Linked DNA regions of Homo sapiens: region 1 is linked to region 2. Evidence: promoter capture Hi-C in 16 types of primary human blood cells and fetal thymus (Javierre and others, 2016). All regions are on one chromosome and are shown on one strand. The core of a region is centred on a gene start or on the middle of the fragment in contact, and the rest is flanking DNA. Distances in the headings are between cores, read along the strand shown.

What was found. The method cuts DNA at HindIII sites, captures the fragments that hold promoters and counts their contacts. A CHiCAGO score of 5 or more calls a contact.
Region 1: a fragment that was not itself captured here is called in contact with the fragment with the promoter of STK32A in region 2 in 5 of 17 cell types (naive CD8 T cells, M2 macrophages, total CD4 T cells and 2 more); the score reaches 7.5 in naive CD8 T cells.

Annotation. Positions count from the first base shown.
Region 1 is chr5:146,539,125-146,543,290 of GRCh38, reverse strand. No RefSeq gene overlaps it. Among named protein-coding and RNA genes, the nearest start is that of PPP2R2B-AS2, 22 kb to the left of the region's middle. RefSeq lists an enhancer at 2,160-2,660. The HindIII fragment of the contact is 7,338 bases long and covers 1-4,166 here.
Region 2 is chr5:147,232,629-147,237,026 of GRCh38, reverse strand. STK32A (serine/threonine kinase 32A) reads right to left here and starts at 2,001. Exons shown (of 13, transcript NM_001112724.2): 1 at 1,828-2,001. It overlaps STK32A-AS1 (STK32A antisense RNA 1), which reads left to right and starts at 2,168. Exons shown (of 4, transcript NR_147190.1): 1 at 2,168-2,314. The HindIII fragment of the contact is 14,744 bases long and covers 869-4,398 here.

The DNA.
Region 1 (4,166 bases), core at 73-2,572, 690 kb after region 2:
CAGGAGGATCCCATGAGCCCAGAAGGTCAAGGTAAGCCATGATCATGCCACTACACTCCAACCTGGGTGACAGAGCAAGTCCCTATGTAAAAAAATAAATAAATAAAATTTGAGCTAATATCTAAAATTTAGGAAATTCCACATAAAAATCCATGTATTTGGTTTCCCTTGAAAAATTAAAGGGCCCCAGCTTCCCAGCTGACAACAACTGACTCCTCTAAGAGGCAGCTCCCAATCCTCATGTCCTTACCCCCCATCCTGACCCCAACTGACCCCCCAGACCCCCTTCCAACTGTGTGCTCTCCAGTTTGCTACTGTGCCCACCTATTTTCCTGTAAAAGGTAGATTTCTACTCCTGTAAAAAATAAACAGCTAACTGACTACAACCCAAACACCAAGAAGAAGGGAGTCATTTCATTTTACCAAGGGTGCCATAAGGTTGTACCAAGCGTTTATTGGAAGCATTTGGCTTGATGACACCACCCCCCACCCTACTCCACGCCTATATTTTTTATTTAGAGAACTATTTGCTCATGGATCTTTAAAGAATCCAACAGTGTCTTCTGGAAACTCAGGGTTAGGGACAATGATATTTATCATCATGCTTGAAATCGTCTTTCTTGCTGTAAAGAAAGATTCTTATAACTTTATGCTGATCAAAAGTAATAGAACAAAGATAGACCTGTGAGGCGGTGCAAGTTCTTTCACCTTCCCATTTCATTCATTTTTACGACTTTCCTGGCCCCTGGGGACAATTTGCCACTCTGGCCTTAAGATACTTTGTAGATAGATTTGTGCCCCACGGACCTGTTTGCAGCCTGCAGTCCGATCTCCGGTTGAGGTGAGCCCCCACCTGGTCACCTGCAGAACGGCACCCACGAGGGCCAGCTAGTTATTCTGGCACACAGGGCAGTTAGAGCGAGCGCTCCTCTATACAGGACACCACTGCGCTGTGTATTTGAGGTAATTAGTTTGGCTCTAAAATTAGCAGTTAAATAAATGTTAATGAACAGCTGTTCCCAATAAACAGGATAAATTGAAATTAATAATTGCCGTATTCATTTAACAAATGAATTACCCACTTTTTAAATACACCAACATAACACATGTGTGATCTCCTGCCAAGAGGGGCCGGCCTAGGAAAATGTACTTAGTGGCAAAACAGGGTAAGCCAGGAGCCAAGCAGGGCAGATGCCATGCCGCCCACTCTAAAGATACCAACAAAATGTGTGACTGCTTTCTTATTTTTATTCCTGTAAAAGGTTGAAATAAATATCAGATTAACTACAACCCAAACACCAAGAAGAAGGGAGTCATTTCATTTTACCAATGGTGGGGTAAGACTGCATCCAGGGTTTCTTGAAGGCATTTGGCTTGATAACACCACCCCCTACCTCACTCCACCCCTATATTTTTTATGTAGGGAACTATTTGCCCGTGGATCTTTAAAGAACCCGACTCTATCGCATCCCAGGAGTAGAAAATTGCTAGCAACACTGAATTCTAGGGCAGTGAGAAGGACAAGAGCTTTAGAGGGACAATCTAGGCTCAAGTTCTGACTACACTAATTACCTCAGTTTCTTCATCTGCACAATGGGAATTGTGAGCTTTGTGTAAGATCATATAGGTCAAGTAGCTAGCACAATGTTTAGCATTTAATAGTTCTTTATTATAATACATATTATTACTTTTCCTTTACAGTGTAAATGACAATCAGAGTTTAAGGAACAAACTTACAAGTAAACTAAGCCTTTATCTGCCGGAGCCCCACGCATTGATGCCAGGCTCTGTCCTGGGCAGGAACACCAACGTGAACAAGACAAGGGCTCTGCCTAGAGGAGCCCATGTGCTCGTGTCCTGGTGTAGCAGGCATGTGAAACATGGACATAACAAGCAAGAACGTTTAGGCGCGTGCTGTGAAGAGACTAAAAGGGGACAACAGAAGAGTGGCTGGGTGACTTTAGCTGCAATAACAGGAACATTTGAGGGACCACCACTCTGAGGGAAAAGTTAAGCCAGCACCTGCATGTGACTGGAAGGCTGCCATGAAGTCTCCAGGAAGAACATTCTGGAGAAAGAGCAAATGCAAAGACTCTAAAGTGGGAAAAAGTACCAGCATATTCCAGCGAGAGGGTGAGCGTCATTAGAACTTAGGGACATAGCCAGGCTCAGTGGCTCATGCCTGTAATCCCAGCACTTTGGGAGGCCAAGGCAAATGGATCACCTGAGGTCAGGAGTTCGAGACCAGCCTGGTCAACATGGTAAAACCCCGTCTCTACTAAAAATACAAAAATTAGCCAGGCATGGTGGCAGGTGCCTGTAATCCCAGCTACTCAGAGGCTGAGTCAGGACAATCACTTGAACCCAAAGAGATGGAGGTTGCAGTGAGCTGAGATTGCATCATTGCACTCCAGCCTGGGCAACAAGAGTGAGAGGCCATCTAAAAAAAAAAAAAAAATAAGAACTTAGGGACATTAGTTTCTGAAGATCACTCTGGCTGTCAAGTAGAACAAAAGTGAAAGGAGGGAGCTGAGTTAGAAGGCTTTTGCAGATGGTGGCTTCCCCATAAATTGACCCAACCTACTTCATTCCATGCAAGAGGATCCTTTCACCCCAGGAATTCCCATTACACATAGTTTTCATTACAACATGGAAGGTCATTATTGGTAGAAGATGTTACAGCCAGTACAGAGCGAGTCATGCACACTCTCTCACCAGAGAGGAGTTAGACCTGGAAGGCAATCACTGGGCCACGCTAAGATCTTCACCTCCTTTGTTTGTCCCTTTGTCCCCCTCCCTATTCTCAGCATACACACAGCTAGTCATTAGCATTCTTTGCATGTGGAGAGACTCAGTAATGGTTTGTGTGTCTCACATTGAAATACTATAGGCAGATACAGTATTTCAGAGTGGTAAAGAGACCTTGGTTAGCTGCGTCTGAATCCCAGCTCTACCATTTTCTGCCTGTGCAACCTGGACAATTTACTTAACCTCTCTCATGTGTCAGTTTCTGTCTCTGGGAATGGGGAAAATAGCACATAGTTATTAAGGAGATCAATAATAACAATGGAAAGAGCATAGCATGTAAGGGTGTTGGCCTACAGTAAGCCCTCAGTAAATATCAGTGCTTAGTCATAGGCCCGCAGCACACAGTTCTCTCTGATGGACACAAATCCTGTTCCAGTGATAATCAAGCTGTGACTGTAAAATAGACTGTTACATTTAAATTAGAAGCAAAGTTAATGATAAAGTTAATTCATAGACAGGATGTTTGAAGTTTTACGTTAAAAATGAACTTATGGGTCCGGTGGCAAACTCTTATGTCTCAGCAGGCGTTTCTTTGGAGCCAGTATAAAGTGTTTAAAACTTCATAGTAATGTAATATTAAGTACAGGCAAAGTTAGTAAGACAGACCTGTCATACACTGATGGGGAGAGAGCGGGTGTAAAACGCTATAGCCAGTTGAGAGGCTTTTTTTTTTTTTTCTTTTAAGGAGTCTCTGTCACCCAGGCTGGAGTGCAGTGGTGCAATCTTGGCTCACTGCAACCTCCGCCACCTGGGTTCAAGCAACTCTCCTGTCTCAGCCTCCCAAGTAGCTGGGACTACAGGTGCACGCCACTATGCCCGACTAATTTTTGTATTTTTAGTAGAGATGGGATTTCACCATATTGGTCAGGCTGGTCTCGAACTCCTGACCTCAGGTGATCTACCCGCCTCAGCCTCCGAAAGTGCTGGGATTACAGGCGTGAGCCACCTCACCCAGCCAAGAGGCATTTTTAATACATCTTTTAAACGTGCATCAACTTCAATCCACCAATTTCACTTCTTTTTTTTTTTTTTTTTTTTTCTGACACAGAGCCTCTCTCTGTCACCCAGGCTGGAGTGCAGTGGCATGATCTCAGCTCACTGCGACCTCCACCTCCAGGTTCAAACGATTCTCCTGCCTCAGCCTCCTGAGTAGCTGGGACTACAGGCATGTGCCACTATGCCCAGCTAATTTTTTGTATTTTTAGTAGAGACGGAGTTTCACCATGTTGGCCAGGATGGTCTCAATCTCCTGACCTCGTGATCCGCCTGCCTTGGCCTCCCAACGTGCTGGGATTACAGGCATGAGCCACCGTGCCTGGCCCAATTTCACTTAATATCTGTTCTGGAATATGACACCC
Region 2 (4,398 bases), core at 752-3,251:
GAACATTAATTTTAAGGATTTGCAGTTGTTAACTGCAGGCAGAGGCTACATTGTCTTTTATTTTGTGCTTAAAACCTGAGTACATGTAGTTTTCACAATGCACCCCAGTCCTGTCATTCTTATATCTTTCTTCACACCTCAGGTTTTTCTCAAGTAGCCTGTCATCCTGCAACATAAGATATACCAAGCACTGACCTTGCAAGTTGTCGAATCAGAAAGAGAAAGAGGAAGGAATATTATCGCAATTTTCCATGTTTCAGAATTTCATTCTGATGTGCACACAATTTTGTTCACCACGGACCAAGTGATTTTTAGTGGGAAGATAATATGCAAACAGGGAACCATTTTTGTGTGTGTCTGTGGAAGGGGGAAGCAGATGGAACCACTGGGTGGTCGTTTAGTATCTTCTTCATTGCACCTAACATACACAATCCAGTTTAAAATTATTTTTCATTTTCTCTCCCATGTGGATAACCAAATTAGATTTTTTTTTTCATATTCAGAAAGAAATCTACCTTTCTCTCGCAGGAAAATGGAGACATGTCCTTTCCATTCTGCTGAAGAGCCCAGTAGAGCTGTAGGACTCTCTTTTACCAACCCCCCAGCCCTTCCTGATCTCCAGGCACTAGGTCTGCAGTGTTACCTAAGCATCATTTTGAGATGTGAAGAGGACAGCTACCATCCATGAAAATGAAAATCCAAAGCATATGAAATGTAAAAGGAGGAGAAATTTGTCTTGCAGGGACACAGGGAGTTTTCAGAGTCTACCCTGACCTGGCCGATTATCAGATTATTAACTGGGAAATAGTTCCCTAATACCAACCTTTCATCTTTGGCCTGTAATTTGGGGGTTGTCAACAGGTAAGCTTCTCTAACCACCAAGCCTCCCTAGATAAAGAGGTGTGGTCTTCTAGGATTGGAAAACATAGGAGGTGATGCAAGAAAGTTGCAACTTTTGATTAAACATTTTAGGTTTCATTGTCACAGAATGTGCATAGACACAACTTATTTTGTTTGCATTTGAAAAACAGAACTTCTTAGTTTAAGAAATATTTTAAAAATAGGGGGCAAAAACATGAAAAATGCCCAAGTTAATAACACTCTCAGTTAACAATTGTTTATATTTGGTCATCTTTATATCATCATTTTTATTTTTAAAGCATTTTAGGGAAATATTATTTCCACCTTAATCCTAAAGTCCAATTGATTTCCCTTTCACACTTTCCAAAGACAGCCACAATCACGGATGTGATAAACATTTTACAGTCCCCCTTCTATGATTTTACAAACATGACAAGTGTCTTAAAATAAGTCACCTAAATGGCATGAGAGAGTGGATATATTTTGCATCTTGCTGTGTCTATCTGCCATCATACTTCTGAAATCTAGGTACAGGCATGCTGATCCCTACAGCTCTGATTTTAGCTTTTTAAGTGCTGCATAGCAGTCCGTTGTGTGAATACACCACATTTTATTTTTTAAGTCCTGGGGGAAAAAGTCCTTGTGGAGATGAAGCAATCATCAAAGGCAGCTAGGTTTTGCTTGTTTAGATGCTGGAGAACAAGCAGAAACACCTCCACTCACTTGTCTCAACCCAGCAAATATTTATTGAAGTCTGTCTGGGTCTGCACATGAGTCAGTGCCAGGCAGGGGAACCTGGATGGAGTGCAAAATAGCTGGAATTGGCCCTAGCCTGCATTTAGTTTTGTGAGTTATCTTGATCAGCAGCCTTTGTCTTCTCTTCTCCTTGCACTTCCTAGCTTCCCAACAGTACCCTTAGTATGCAGGTTTATTGTTATTATTCGTTAAATCTAGACCACCACTCACCTAGTCTCGATTCTTCCTTCATTCCTCCCATGAGGCTCGGAGCGATGCTTTCATCCAGGGAACAGGGACTAAGAGAAGAACTCCAAGAGCAAGGAGCAAGAAAAGGCACCTATCTGCCCGGAAGCGGCGGAGGCTGCGAGCGCCGGGCTGGGCTGGGCTGGGCTGCGCTGGACTGAGCTGGGCTGGGCTGGGGAGGCACCTGCGGCTGCCAAGGGGTCCGAGCGCCGCCCAGCGCACAGCTACCCCGGAGGGGCGGCTCCTTGGCCAGGGAAGGAGGCGGGATCTGCTTGCCAGCGGGCGTCTCCGCTTAGCGCTCTCTCCAGAAACCGCTGGGCAGTCTCCTGGGTGAGCGCCAGACGCCTGGGGTCCGTTTGCCGCCTGCTGAGACTAGACAAGGACCCCGGGAGGGCGACGTTGGGGGAGAGGGCTACGGATGGAGGTCCCGCCGCGCTTGGGCCGGGTCCGGAGCCACCAGGACGCACAGCGGGTACTATTACGCCCCATATCACGGGAACTGCCTCACCCCCCCTGCGATGTGGATCGTAATAGCCGGGGGGGGGGGGGGGGGAGAAGGGGGGTGCTATTACTCTCCATATCGCCGGGGGTGCCTCACCCCCCTGCGATGTGGATCCTAAAAGCCGGGGGGTTGAGGGGGAGAGGGCGGTGCTATTACTCCTCATATCGCGGGGGAAGCCTCACTCCCCTGCGATGTGGATCGTAATAGTCGGGGGGGAAAGGGGGACGCTATTAATCCCCATATGGCAGGAGGGTGCCTCACACCCCAGCGATGTGGCTCGTAGTAGCCAGGGAGGGAGGGGGGGTCCTATTACTCCCCATATGGCGGGGTGTGCCTCACCCTCTTGCTATATGGGAATTAATAGCATTCTCTCCCCTCTTGGACATTAGAAACAATTTCACAGTGTGTGTGTACACAGCCTGCGATATTGAAACTAACAGCATCCTATCCACCTCCGGTTATTAGGAACAATATCACAAAATGGTGTACACTCTTTGCGAGACTTGGAGTTCTATCGTGCTGTGTTTCCCTGAATATTCGTAGAAATGTGACAGCGTGGGTGTACACCCACTACTATATTGGGAGTAACTTCGTACTCCACCCCCTGGAAATTAGGAGAAATATCACGGAAGGGGTGTAAAGCCACTGCGATATTTGAAATAATATCATGCCCTCACCCACTAGTTATTAGGAACAATATCACAGGACGGTGTATACCTTCTACAGTATTGGGAGTAATATCATCATCTCTTTCTTTAGATATTAGGAACAATATCAAAGGGGGTTGCACACCCAGTGTATTATTGGAAGTAATATCATTCTCTCTTCTTCTAGATTTTAGGAATCATATCACAGGCAGGGTGTACCACCCTTATTATATTAAAAGTAATGTTATCTCCTTTCGACCTGGATATTAAGAACAATAAGAAATGCGTTCTGTACATCCTTTGAATATTGGTAGTAATACCATCTTTTCCCTTCCTGGATTTAAGAAACAATATGACTTGTGGGGTGTCCACCCCTTGCAATATTGGGAGTAATATCACCTCTCCCCATGAGGTTATTAGGGACAAAATCACAGGGTGGGTGTACACTTCCTACGTTATTAAGAGTAATATCATCCACTTTCCCCCTTTATATCAGGAACCATATCACAGAAGAGGTGTACACCCCCTGTGATATTGTCAGTAATATCATCTCTTCCCCCCTGGATATTAGGAGCAAAACCACAGGGGGGATGTACACCCACTGCGATATTGAAAGTAATAGCAGCCTCTTTCCCGCTGGATATTAGGAAGTATATCACAGGTGTGTGTGCACCTTCTGCGATATTGGTAGTAATATAAACCTCTACTATGCTGCCTATTAGGAAGAATATACAGTGGGGGGCGGGGGGGTTACAACCCCTGCGACATTGGGCATAATATTATTATTTTTCCCTGTACATTAAAAACTCTATCAAAGGGGTCTGTACACCTTCTGCGATATTGGGATCAATTTTATTCTCTCCCCCACTGAATGTTAGAAACAATATTACAGAAGGGTGTACACTTCCTGCGATATGGCCAGTAATATCATCATCTCCTTCCCTGGATATTAGGAACAATATCACCATTTGTGTACATCCCTTGCGCTGTTGGGAGTAACATTATTCTCTCTTCCCCTTGATATTAGAAATAATATCACAGGCGGAGTGTACACCCCACCCCCTGCGATACTGAAGGTAATATCATTCTTTTTTAACTTAGATATAAGGAACAGTATCACAGGGGGCGTGTACACTTTCTTCGATACTGGGAGTAATACCATCCTCTCAACCCGTAAAGAGCAGGAAAAATATCAAAGAATGTTTGTACACCACTTGCGATATTGGGAGTAACATCATCCTCCCCTCACCTGGGTATCAGAAAAAATATCATGGGGCATGGATGTACACCACCTGCGATACTGGGAGTAATATAATGTTCTATCCCCATGGATATTGAGAACAATATCACAGAGGTGGTGTACATCCTCTGCGTTACTGCGAGTAATATCATCCTCACCCCCCCTAG